Linked DNA regions of Homo sapiens: regions 2, 3 and 4 are each linked to region 1. Evidence: promoter capture Hi-C in 16 types of primary human blood cells and fetal thymus (Javierre and others, 2016). All regions are on one chromosome and are shown on one strand. The core of a region is centred on a gene start or on the middle of the fragment in contact, and the rest is flanking DNA. Distances in the headings are between cores, read along the strand shown.

What was found. The method cuts DNA at HindIII sites, captures the fragments that hold promoters and counts their contacts. A CHiCAGO score of 5 or more calls a contact.
Region 2: a fragment that was not itself captured here is called in contact with the fragment with the promoter of KAZN in region 1 in 1 of 17 cell types (M0 macrophages); the score reaches 5.8 in M0 macrophages.
Region 3: a fragment that was not itself captured here is called in contact with the fragment with the promoter of KAZN in region 1 in 1 of 17 cell types (M2 macrophages); the score reaches 7.1 in M2 macrophages.
Region 4: a contact is called between a fragment that was not itself captured here and the fragment with the promoter of KAZN in region 1, in 1 of 17 cell types (M0 macrophages). The highest score is 6.2, in M0 macrophages.

What each region holds. Positions count from the first base shown.
Region 1 is chr1:14,597,197-14,600,019 of GRCh38, forward strand. It overlaps KAZN (kazrin, periplakin interacting protein), which reads left to right and starts at 1,489. Exons shown (of 15, transcript NM_201628.3): 1 at 1,489-2,027. The coding sequence starts at 1,802. RefSeq lists a silencer at 2,156-2,315. The HindIII fragment of the contact is 2,542 bases long and covers 852-2,823 here.
Region 2 is chr1:15,017,824-15,020,523 of GRCh38, forward strand. The region is part of intron 2 of KAZN (kazrin, periplakin interacting protein); the gene reads left to right. Among named protein-coding and RNA genes, the nearest start is that of TMEM51-AS1, 130 kb to the right of the region's middle. The HindIII fragment of the contact is 2,056 bases long and covers 393-2,448 here.
Region 3 is chr1:15,087,554-15,090,358 of GRCh38, forward strand. All of the region lies in intron 8 of KAZN (kazrin, periplakin interacting protein), which reads left to right. Among named protein-coding and RNA genes, the nearest start is that of TMEM51-AS1, 64 kb to the right of the region's middle. The HindIII fragment of the contact is 1,604 bases long and covers 563-2,166 here.
Region 4 is chr1:15,069,138-15,071,837 of GRCh38, forward strand. All of the region lies in intron 8 of KAZN (kazrin, periplakin interacting protein), which reads left to right. Among named protein-coding and RNA genes, the nearest start is that of TMEM51-AS1, 82 kb to the right of the region's middle. The HindIII fragment of the contact is 4,729 bases long and covers 1-2,700 here.

The sequences.
Region 1 (2,823 bases), core at 239-2,738:
GGTCAGGGTTCGATCCCCGAACTGACCCATTAGCTGAGCAGAGCGGACAGAGTGAAGAATTGTGTCTTCCTGCCACATGCTCCACCATCAAATCCTGCCCTCTTGCAAAAGCTTGTTAGTGGTCACAGGGGAATGGAGCAAGACTGTTTTTATGGTTCCACAGAAAAGGGGGGAGAAATCTATCATCCAAGGCCTCCTGAAGGCGCAGCAGGAGGAACTTGCAATCAGATGATTACTTTCTTCCAGTCCCGCTGTCACCTGGTTTCTGCGGGCCCCTTAAGTAAATTGCTTAACCCTATGCAGAGCCTCAGTTTCCTTATCCCTAAAATGGGAATAATAATCCTCACTCACAAGAGATAAGAATGCATATAAAAGCACTCTACACGCAGTTTTTGCTTGGTTCTTATGGGCTTCCTGTAAGAACCTGAAGGGTGGGCAGCCTCATTTTTCCTCGCAGCACCCCACTGGCTTCTGCAATCTGCTCTTTGCTGCTCTCCGGAGGTTGACTGAGCTGGAATGATGGCGCCCTGTTGACCAGAGGGTTGCTGGCTGTTTTAAATTGTCCTATTTGCATGGAATGAAGTTTGCTATGGTAACAAGGTCTGGTGGCTGGAATCCAGGGCCCCAGTGAAAAATGCAAAGCCTGTGGTCTGGGAGAGAAAGAGGAGCTGGAGAGGGCATATCAACGTCAGGTTACCTCAGTTCTTCTGTGAAGAGGGGATGGGTAAACTGAGGCAGCAGGGCTCAACTCTTCTGCTCCCAGTAGAAGAAAGGGAAGAAGCCCCATCGACGCCTTCCTTCTTATCTCTCAACCTCATCTCTGTCCCCGCCAATATTCAGCCCGGCTAAGAAGCTTAGGAGCTGGCTAAGGCTGCTCCTCCACCTGGATGCACACACAGGGCTAGGGCTGTGGAGAGGCGGGAGCACCAGCGGCCCACGCCGAGGAAGATAGGCGCTCCCTCCTGGGGTGGGCAGCGCAGGTCTGGCCTGCGGGTGGGGGGTGGAGAGTGAGAGGCACGCGGGGCACCAGCTCAGCTCCCCTCTGGGGATTTCGTACTCGCAGTTTAAGGAACCGGTGGAGCACGAACTCCACTCCTGAGCTGGCGCAAGCGTCTCCCTTCCATGGAGATCCACCCCGGCTCCCCTCTGAGGCCCCCTTTCCAAGCACCCTCTCTTCCGAGCACCCAGCACCTCCCCAACCTTAGCACGGCTCGGGGCACCAGTTCTCCAGGGCGGGGGCTGCCCCACCGCTCAAGGGAGGGGACAGAGGGCCGGCCTCGGTCCAGGCGACCCCTGCCCCTCGCCAGGGGCGCCACCTTGGCCCCCTCCCGACTGCCGTCCGCCGCCTCCGCCCCCCCGGGGGGTGTGTCTCCGAAGTACGGGGGCGCGGGAGGCCAAGGGTGCCCCCAGCCTCCGACCGAGACCCCCTCCCGAGCCGGCGGCGAATGGTAGGCTCCATTTAAAGAGTGCCTGGTGGCGCGCGGTGTCCTTCTTGGAGCAGCTCTCGGCGCCCGCCCGCCGGGGTCTCGGCGATCGCTGCTCCTCCTCCTCCTTCTCCTCCTCTTTTTTCTCCTCCGCCTCCTCCCCCCGCCGCCTCGCCACCGCCGCGGCTAGGGCTGGAGGCGCCGCTGTCATTCCTGTGCCGGAGGAACCGGCGCTGCCGGTGCCTGGGGGTCGGGGCGCGGGCGAAGCCGGGCCGCGGAGGACACAACAGGTAGAGCCGGGGGTGCCCGGCCGCGCGCCCCCCGCGCATCATGCAGCTCTTTGTCACCTCTCTCGCCCCCAGGCCAAAATCCTGAGCATGATGGAAGACAATAAGCAGCTCGCGCTCCGCATCGATGGGGCGGTCCAGTCGGCCAGCCAGGAGGTGACCAACCTGCGAGCCGAACTCACGGCCACCAACCGGAGACTGGCGGAACTGAGCGGCGGCGGCGGCCCCGGCCCGGGCCCGGGAGCCGCGGCCAGCGCCTCGGCGGCGGGGGACTCGGCGGCGACGAACATGGAGAACCCCCAGCTTGGAGCGCAAGGTAGGATCGCCCCGGCGCCCAGGGCGGAGGAAGGCGAGCAGAGCACGCCCGGCCTCGGAGGTGGCCGGGGACCCGGGGTCCCCCACACCCGGGGCGAAATCGCTTTGCATTCTGGCTTGTAACCCTTTCCGCCCGGCGGTGGCCACCGCTGCTCTCCGGCTGGGAGTTGCAGGCTGCTGTCATTCACGAAAACCCGAGCGCAGTGTGCACGGGGTCACACGGTCACACCGGCCCCGGCCAGCCTGAGCGAGGCGCAGCCGGCGGGTCCCTTCCGGCATCAGAAAGTGCCCTTTCCGTGGCACCAGCCCCCTAGCTCCGTGCAAACTTTTCATGCCGGGGCCTTTTCCCCACCCCCCGCAGGGGTGAATGGCACAGTTCCCCCCACTTCCTTAGGCTCCTTCCCAGAGAGAGCTCCGGGCTCTGCCGCCGTGGTTGGGATAGAGGATTGCACTGCTGTGCACTTTTCTCCGCGGATGCCAAATCCCTTGGCTCAGTTGCATCTGGACTTTATTTTCTTCTCATTTGAGGTCTCTCAGGCATTGGAATCTATAGATGCAACAGTAGATGCTCAGCTCAGCAGGGAGTTTAAATTTCCGCAAATATAAACACCGAGAGCACTTTCCAGGGGGATACTGTAGACCTCAAAGGTTGAGCGGTAGAGAAATGAAGGCTTAGGGTGGTGGGCTGCAGGGAGCCCGTTTGAAGGGACTCTGCGGTTTAGAGAAGAGGAAGAAAAAGACAGTTGGTTTGTGTTCACATTGACAGAGATTAAGCTCTGAAACCCCCTGCAAGACAT
Region 2 (2,700 bases), core at 171-2,670, 420 kb after region 1:
ATTCTGGGGGATACCCCGATGTCACCCCTATAAACCATTCTCATAAGCCTGCCTCTGGCATGTGATCATTAGAGCAAAAACTGGCTACTCCTAAGAGTAGTGAGTTCTCCATTCATGGAGGTGTGCAAATTTTCACATATACTAACTTATTGATCTTTCCCATTTCCAAGAACCCTATGGAGTCTTTAGGGTTCTCCCCTCTGATCTCCCTGGCTTCCCCCCAGCCTGCAAACTCCCTTTTCTCCCCCTCCATTTTTCTGGGCCACGCTTTCAGCTTTTTTTCAATAAGACAAATCCAAGTCTATCTCAGAAGTCTAAAGTGTGTACGTCTGCTCACACATATAATTTTACTATGAGATAGTTTATCAGTCCTGAATGTATATTTAGTGACAAGCTTGGCTAATCTTTCATCTAATTACACTCATTAACATTTAAATGTATAATCATTAATATATCTGAGAATGGCGGTCTAAATATTTTATAGAGGTCTTAATTACAGTAGATTTCCAGTCTTGCCATAAAACTCTCGCACCCCTCCAATTAACGGGATGGCATCAGGTAGCTCCAGGGCCCTGGCTGGGGGTTGGTGGTGGCCAGGGTCTCTCACTTTCTGGTTGCAGGAGAAGACAAGAAAATTGTTCTCTGTGATTTTTTTTTTGCTGCCACGCCTCTGTCTGCAGCCGTCATGGGGTCCCCTGGAAGAGGGAAAAATCAAAGACAGGATCACAAAAATTGAAAATAATAATTGTTGCTGCAGAGACTTTAGGGAGTTGATTTAAAAAAAAAAAAACACTCCTTTCTTCCTCTACTAAATTAGGAAGTAGTTGTGGGGGTCTCACAGAAGTCAGACAAGCAAAGATCACAGTGTTTTGTGACCGAAAGGGGGTCTGAGATCATGGCTGGGATCCTGGGCCACGGTGTCTGGTTGATGCTGAATGCCAGAAGTAGACAGACTTACCCACCTGGACTGGCACAGGCGGGCAGCCACAGCCCCCCAGCAGCTGCCCTCCCCTCCCATTAACAGCTGTCTTCACACCTTTGAAATCTCTGTGGATTCTAAAGCTCATCTTCAGATATCGTTTCCACCTGTGAGGTTGCTAGGTTGTTATTGTGCCCATTTCACAGAGTTAAACACTGAGGCCCTGAGAAGTTGCTGGATGTCCTGAAGGCACATGGCGGGCGGGAGGCTGAGCAGGACCTGAATCCTTAGTGACCTGCTGTGAGTCCCAGCCAGACTGAGACTCATCTTATCCCAGCAGCCATACTGGGTCTGTGAGAGGACCTGGCATGTACCTCCACACCTTCCAGGGACAACTGGGGCCTGTGGCCTCCAGGGTGATGAAAGGCCTTGCAGGGTGGGACCACCAGGCTCCACTGCTCCCCACTGCACCCCCATTCCATGCCCAGGTCCAGCATCTGCCCCAGCCTTGCTACACCAGGGACTGCCTACCTGGATATGATTAAGAGCAGGGGGCTCAGAACCAGACCCACCCAGCCTGAACCTGGCTCTGCCTCTTACCAGCTGGGTCAGTGTAATCTACCTTTGCCTCAGTTTCTTCATTTGGTTGTTTGTTTGTTTCTTTGAGACAGAGTCTTGCTCTGTCACCCAGGCTGGAGTGCAGTGGTGCAATCTCAGCTCACTGCAACCTGTGTCCCCCTGGTTCAAGCAATTCTTGTGCCTCGGCCTCCCTAGTATCTGGGATTACAAGCGCCCGCCACCACGCCAAGCTAATTTTTGTATTTTTAGTAGAGACAGGGTTTCGCCATGTTGGCCAGGCTGGTCTCGAGCTCCTGACCTCAAGTAATCCACCTGCCTCGGCCTCCCAAAGTGCTGGGATTACAAGCGTGAGCCACCAAGCCCAGCCAGTTTCTTCATTTGTAAACTGGGGAGAATGATGGCATTACCTCTCAGGATTGCTTTGAGGAAAATTTGAGTGAAAACATGCAAGGTGTAGAATAATACCCACCCCATAGGAATCACTCAATAAATGCTGACTACGGCTGTTACTGTGGTGATTGTTATCATCGGTTATCATTGCTGTTGTCATTATTAGTGCTGGGGAAGCCACCACCTTTCATCATGCCAAGTACTGCCTGGCACCTCCATGAATGTCCTCCCCCTTAACTAACCACAGTAACACACGGACAGCGTTGTCGTGGCCTGTGCAGGACTGAGCTGGACTTGAACCCAGGACCAACCCCACAGCTCATCTTCCTTCCCCAGCCCCAGGGGCCCTGGGGACTCACAGTGGGAACAACGCCTACCTTGCCCACACCTGGAGCTGCCCTGCCTCACTGCTACCCCAGGCGGGTGTCTACTGACGTCATGGGGACCCACAGCCCTCCAGGTGATACAAGCTGGGTTACCGCATTCCCCACACACTAGTCACTGTTCCGAGGGCATTGCATATACAAAACCAGTGCTATGAGGTGGATGCTGTTTCTAAAAGCTTTTAATTAAAGGATCACATAATACTCACATAATACATGAATCTCAAGTTTATATCTTGGAGAATTTTTACAAACTGAATATACTGTGTAATCAGCACCCAGATCAAGAATAGGACCTCATTCGCTTCCCAGAAGCCCTCCTGTGCACCTTTCTTGCCACTATCCCCCTCCGAAGGTAGCCTGTCGCTGACTTCTAGCCATGGAGATTAATTCTGCCCCTCTTGCATCGTCTCTTCTTAGCACTGTTTA
Region 3 (2,805 bases), core at 115-2,614, 490 kb after region 1:
AGCTAATTTTTTTGTATTTTTAGTAGAGACGGGGTTTCACCATGTCGGCCAGGGTGGTCTTGACCTCAGGTGATCCACCCACCTCGGTGTCCCAAAGTGCTGGGATTACAGGCATGAGCCACCACACCCAGCCCTTAAGGCACTTCTCAATGTGAGCTAGCCACATTACATGTTCTGTAGGCACATGTGGCTTGTAGCTGCTGTACTGGACAGAGCAGTCTGGACAGTAAGTGACATGGGCCCGCAGGGGACAGAGGCCTCCACTCCGTCACTGAGTATCCACTCTATGTCAGACACAAGGCTGAACACTTTGCACACATCATTTCATTTCATCCTCACACCATCCTGTGAGATTAAGCGTTCCTATCATCCCCGTTTTACAGAGGGGAAAACCGAGGTTGAGAAAATGTAAAACGCTTCCGTGAGATCTTTTGGTTGATAAGCCACGGAGCTGGGATTCAAACCCAGGGCTCCCATATTCCAGTGCCAGCCTCTGAACGTCTAGGCCAGGCGTTTCTCTATGTGGTCTTTTGCACCGGGCCAAAAAACTTTGTGGGCTTTAAGCTTTAGGCTTTGTGGGCCTGTCTCAACGTCTCAACTCTGCCATTGTAGCATGAAAGCAGCTTTAGACAATAAATAAACAAATGGGCATGGCTGTGATCTAATAAAAACTTTATTTAGAAAAATAGGAGGGAGGGCTGGATTCGGCCTGGGAGGCCGTAGTCTGCTGACCTCTATGCTGGGCCAACACAATTGCCTCTGTAAGGCCTCATTTAGGGGAGACGTCAATGGTCACACTCAGTAGTACTAACATTCTGTGGGTGGGGGGGTGTGCATGCGTGCATATGTGTTGGGGTGGGTGGAAGGATGCACAGCCTCTCGTTCCAAAGTCCACAGTCTTTCTAGTTTCTGGAAGGATCCCGAGTGACTGCCTTTTAGTGGTAGCTTCTCAGACTCCACCAGGGACTCAGCCAGCACCCGCGACTCGGCAGCCCCTCCGCTGAGCAGCCTGGCCATCAACATGAGTTATTCCCTCTCTCAAGACTGAGAAGGAGGGAAATAAAAGCCAGGATTGATGGAATCCGGACATAAAATCTGGCCCCATAATGCCTGCATTTTGGAAACTGCCTTTAATTAATGGTTTATGACCCCAAGGCCCCCCTAGACTCCTCCCAAGCCCTTCTGTCACGTCGTCTCGTTGGTGCTCAGTCCTCAGGGGTGGGGGAGAAGGAGGCGGTGGTGAATAGGGGCGGTGAATAGCTGTCTTGCAGAAACCAAAATGTGTGGTTTGCGCACATGAACCCAGCCTGGCCTCTGGCATTCCTAGGGCCTGGACTCCATAAATAATGCGAGCTGTAAAGCCAGCTCCCCTCACAGCCCTGAGGCCTGCTCACTACAGAAAATAAATAACCCACACACACTCACAAAGACACACAGGCACACGCACACACACGCTCACATTGCACACCAGACGTTTGCCTTTTCTGTTTGTCCACGTATCTGTTATCCCCTCTCTGACCTCGACTCCCTCTCTCCCTCTCCTCCTTTCAATTTACTTTCGCATCTTTATTGCATCTGGACACCCTTTCTCTCCCCAAACCCTCTTCTTTGAACCTTCCCCTCTTCTGGGGGACTCAGGAGCAGCAGCCAACTTCTGCTCCCATCTCCTTTCTCTCCTTCCCATGCTCCTTTAGCTCCCTTTCTTGGGGAGACATAGCCAAGGGCTGCAGACACCCCCCACCCACCCACCTGGGCACAGAACGGACAGATCCACCCTCACCTCACTGAGAGCCCCACCCCTCCCACCTTGACCAGGCAAGAGTCCAGCAGGGACAGTGAATTTCTGCCCTGCCAGGCTGGACAACCAGGAGGACTTGTTCCCTCTGAAGGCACCAAAGCTGTAGCCAGGAATGTAGTGGGAAGGAAGTGGCTGCAGCTAAACTCTAGGTGTGGCCAAACAGTGCCCAAGCCCCAGGAGAGGGGCCCCTTATTGCCAACAATAGCCAGCCTTGACTAAGTGCCTACTGTCAGCCTGAAAAAACAGACATCAGAAAAAAATATCTCCTATATGATGAATGTATTTGGGAGTAAGCATAAATGGATTAGTCTCTGGAAGTATAGCTGTGGCAAGCCATAGGTGCGTCTGGAGAGGGGACAGCAAAGGGAAGCTTTTATTGGCAAAAAAAAAAAAAAAAAAAAAAAAAAAAAAGAGAAGTTCACATAAGCTGCTTGGAAACAGACTTCATTGGCTGCAGAGGCTCAAAGCTAGAGTTGGCATCAGTTCATTGGTGGAGATGACGTTACTGGGCAGTGTTCTTTGGAGAACATCTTACCTGAATTGCTGCAGTCCTGAAGAAGGAATTTCTTGGGGGCTATTTTAGAAAGTCCTTGAGACAGTCCTTATCTCAAACATGCAAGCATGAGTTCCCCTCCTTCGTGATTTCCCGGCTCTAATTCTTCTGGTTCTGACAAAAGTGATTTCATCCTGGTATCTGCAACTTTCACACCCCCATAGCTTCGCATTCAGAGTTTATAACATTCATTTCAAGCTACGAGGCAGATATTCTCATTATTCCCATTTTATATATGGAGAAACGGAGGCTTCAAGGAATCTGCCTGATGCTGAGGTCTGTTCAACTCCAAAGCCTGGTCCAAATGGATGACAGGGGCCGTGTCTTGGAACTTTGGGTAACCAGATTTGGCCACATATCACCTCTCCTCTTCCCAGAAGCACATAACAGAGGTGAGACTCAGCTAGCAGAATAAAACAGAGTGAAGCCAGCCAGGCTGGAGGCCTCCCGGGGG
Region 4 (2,700 bases), core at 111-2,610, 470 kb after region 1:
GGAGGGCAAGTGTGGCCACACGCATGCCCCTACTCCCCTCTCCCTGGCCCCATGCAGACATCACCAATCAATTGAAGAGCCCTTCCTGCCCATCCCGAAGTGGCCTCTGATTTCTCACTTTACATAGCCTCAGATAGCCACAGCCAGTCAATCAGAGTTGGCATACAAGGATAAAGCCTTTTTGCCCTCTCAAAACTAACCCCGTCTCTCATGCGGGACATATGGCAAAAACTTTGGCCCAGAGAGGAATGACTTGGCCAGCGTCCTAGCTATCGTGCCTCTCATCCTGGGACCTTCTCAAGAGCCAGGCCATACCTTATTTGGGTCTTTGTAGCTCTACTCAAAAGCCACCGTACCTCCTTTTTTAAAAGAATCTTCTCCAGGGAAGCTGAGGCAGGAGAATGGCATGAACCCGGGAGTTGGAGCTTGCAGTGAGCCGAGATCGCGCCACTGCGCTCCAACCTGGGTGACAGAGCGAGACTCTGTCTCAAAAAAATAAATAAATATTTAAAAAAGAATCTTCTCCAGGACCTTGCTCCAAATGGTCCAACTTCAAATGGTACCTATTAGAAATTGGAGTAGGGCTGCCCAGGGCATCCAGGGCCAGCTGCACAGGTTGGGCACTGCATTACTCCAGAAGGTGCCATTCTCCAGGCTACCACGTGAATGGTGTCCTGGTTTTTCAATACACAAGCTGCATGACTGTACTCAGTGGCCCGTCTGTGTGCTCCTCCTACCCACGTTGCAGGCTAAAACAGCTGTAACCAATAATAACAATAATAATAATATCTAACATTGATTAGGCATTTACCACAGGCCAGGGTCCATGCTATGCACTTTACACATATTAACTCAGTTAACCCTCCCAACAGCCTGTCATTGATGAGAAAACAGACGTTGAGTAACTCATCTGAGGTCATGGAGCTGGGAGACAATAGAAGTGGGCCTCAAACTATGGAGTTTTGGCTACAGAGTTTGTGCCCTGAACCACTCCACCGTCTGAGCAGTGAGGGGCTGCCGCCAAGCAGCTGGGCCTTCTCCCAGGGGGGCATCTTCAGTGCATCATCTGGGCCTGGTTTCAAGGCCCCTTGCCCACCAGTAGCCTCTGACACAGCTTTGCACTGCCTCACTTTTGTGACTCAGTCTGTTTCCATCAGCCTTTTCCCCGCAGGCCCAGAAAGCTCACCCCTAGAGAGGAATCAGCGGGGGAATCAGAGCAGAAACCGGCTGCTGTCCAGCACCAGCTCTCCCTTCCTCTTCCTGGCTAAGTCAGGAGCAGAATCACCTCCACTGGCCCTGCAGTCCAACCCCTGGCTGTACCAGAGCTGCAGATCCTGAGGGGTAGTGCAGCCCCCAACACCTGGGGAGCTCTGTGGCACCCTTCCCCGCCACAGCATGAGCCTGCGGTCCAGGAGCCGCCCCGCACCTGTGACAAACGGTATCGTGCCCGTCACTCAACCTGGGCTCCTGGGGAATCCAGGCAGAGTGAGCCTGAACCGTGGGGGACATCAGTCGTTTGACAAAATGATTTTTAAAATACCTCTGGGCCAAAAGTTAGCCAAGTGTGGTGGCACACGCCTGTAGTCCCAGCTACTCAGGAGGCTGAGGCTGAAGCATCTCTTGAGCTCGGGATGTCGAGGCTGCAATGAGCCGAGATCGAGCCACTGCACTCCAGCCTGGGCGACAGAGTGAGACCCTGTCTATTATTTATAAATGAATAAATAAAATATCTCTGGGTTTTCCCCAAAAACTTGCATTTTCCCAGACACCCCAGATGGCTCCTAGGCTTTTTCCAGTTGGACTCCACTGGGCGGGGCAAAATATGCCCCGGTCCCTGGCCCCCACCTGTTCCCATTTTCCAGTGGTTACAGAACCTGGTGATAATGAAGAATGAATAGGGAACATGTATCAGCTTATTCTTTATAAAAGAGTATATTCGTAATTCTGCATTACAAAATAATGCCCCCAAACTTACAAATATCTTAGCAGTTCGTATGTTAGAAGTTATTTAAATATCAAAGTTATGGCATGTCACTAAAATGTCCCCCTGTGGGCAAATTGAGGGTATAAGTCTGGGATGGCAAATAGGATATGGATATTTCTCTTTTTATTTTTCTTTTTTTTTCTTTTTTGAGGCAGAGTCTCACTCTGTCGCCCAGGCTGGAGTGCAGTGGCGCGATCTCGGCTCACTGCAACCTTTGCCTCCTGGGTTCAAGCGATTCTCCCACCTCAGCCTCCCTAGTAGCTGGGACTACAAGCATGCATCACCACACCCGGCTACTTTTTGTGTTGTTTTTAGTAGAGACGGGAGTTTGCCATGTTGGCCAGGCTGATTTTGAACGCCTGACCTCAGGTGATCCACCCACCTTGGCCTCCCAAAGTGCTGGAATTACAAGTGTGAGCCACCGCACCCAGCCTGGGTATGGATATTTCATACCTGAACCACAATTGGATGATGTCTCAAAGTCCCGTGGCTGGAAAATATGCAAATATGCAGCACGGTACTCTATAGGGCAACAAACTGAATCCTTGAGAAAATGATCCCAACAGGATTGATCCAAGAATAGCAGCAAGGGGAAATCTTGGCCTATTCATCCTGAAAATGGCAGGACCTCTGATGACCTAGCACGTGCCTTGCAAGGCCTTGTGACGTTGCCAGGCTGTGTACAGAAACCATGCTTCTGGATCACAGAAAACACT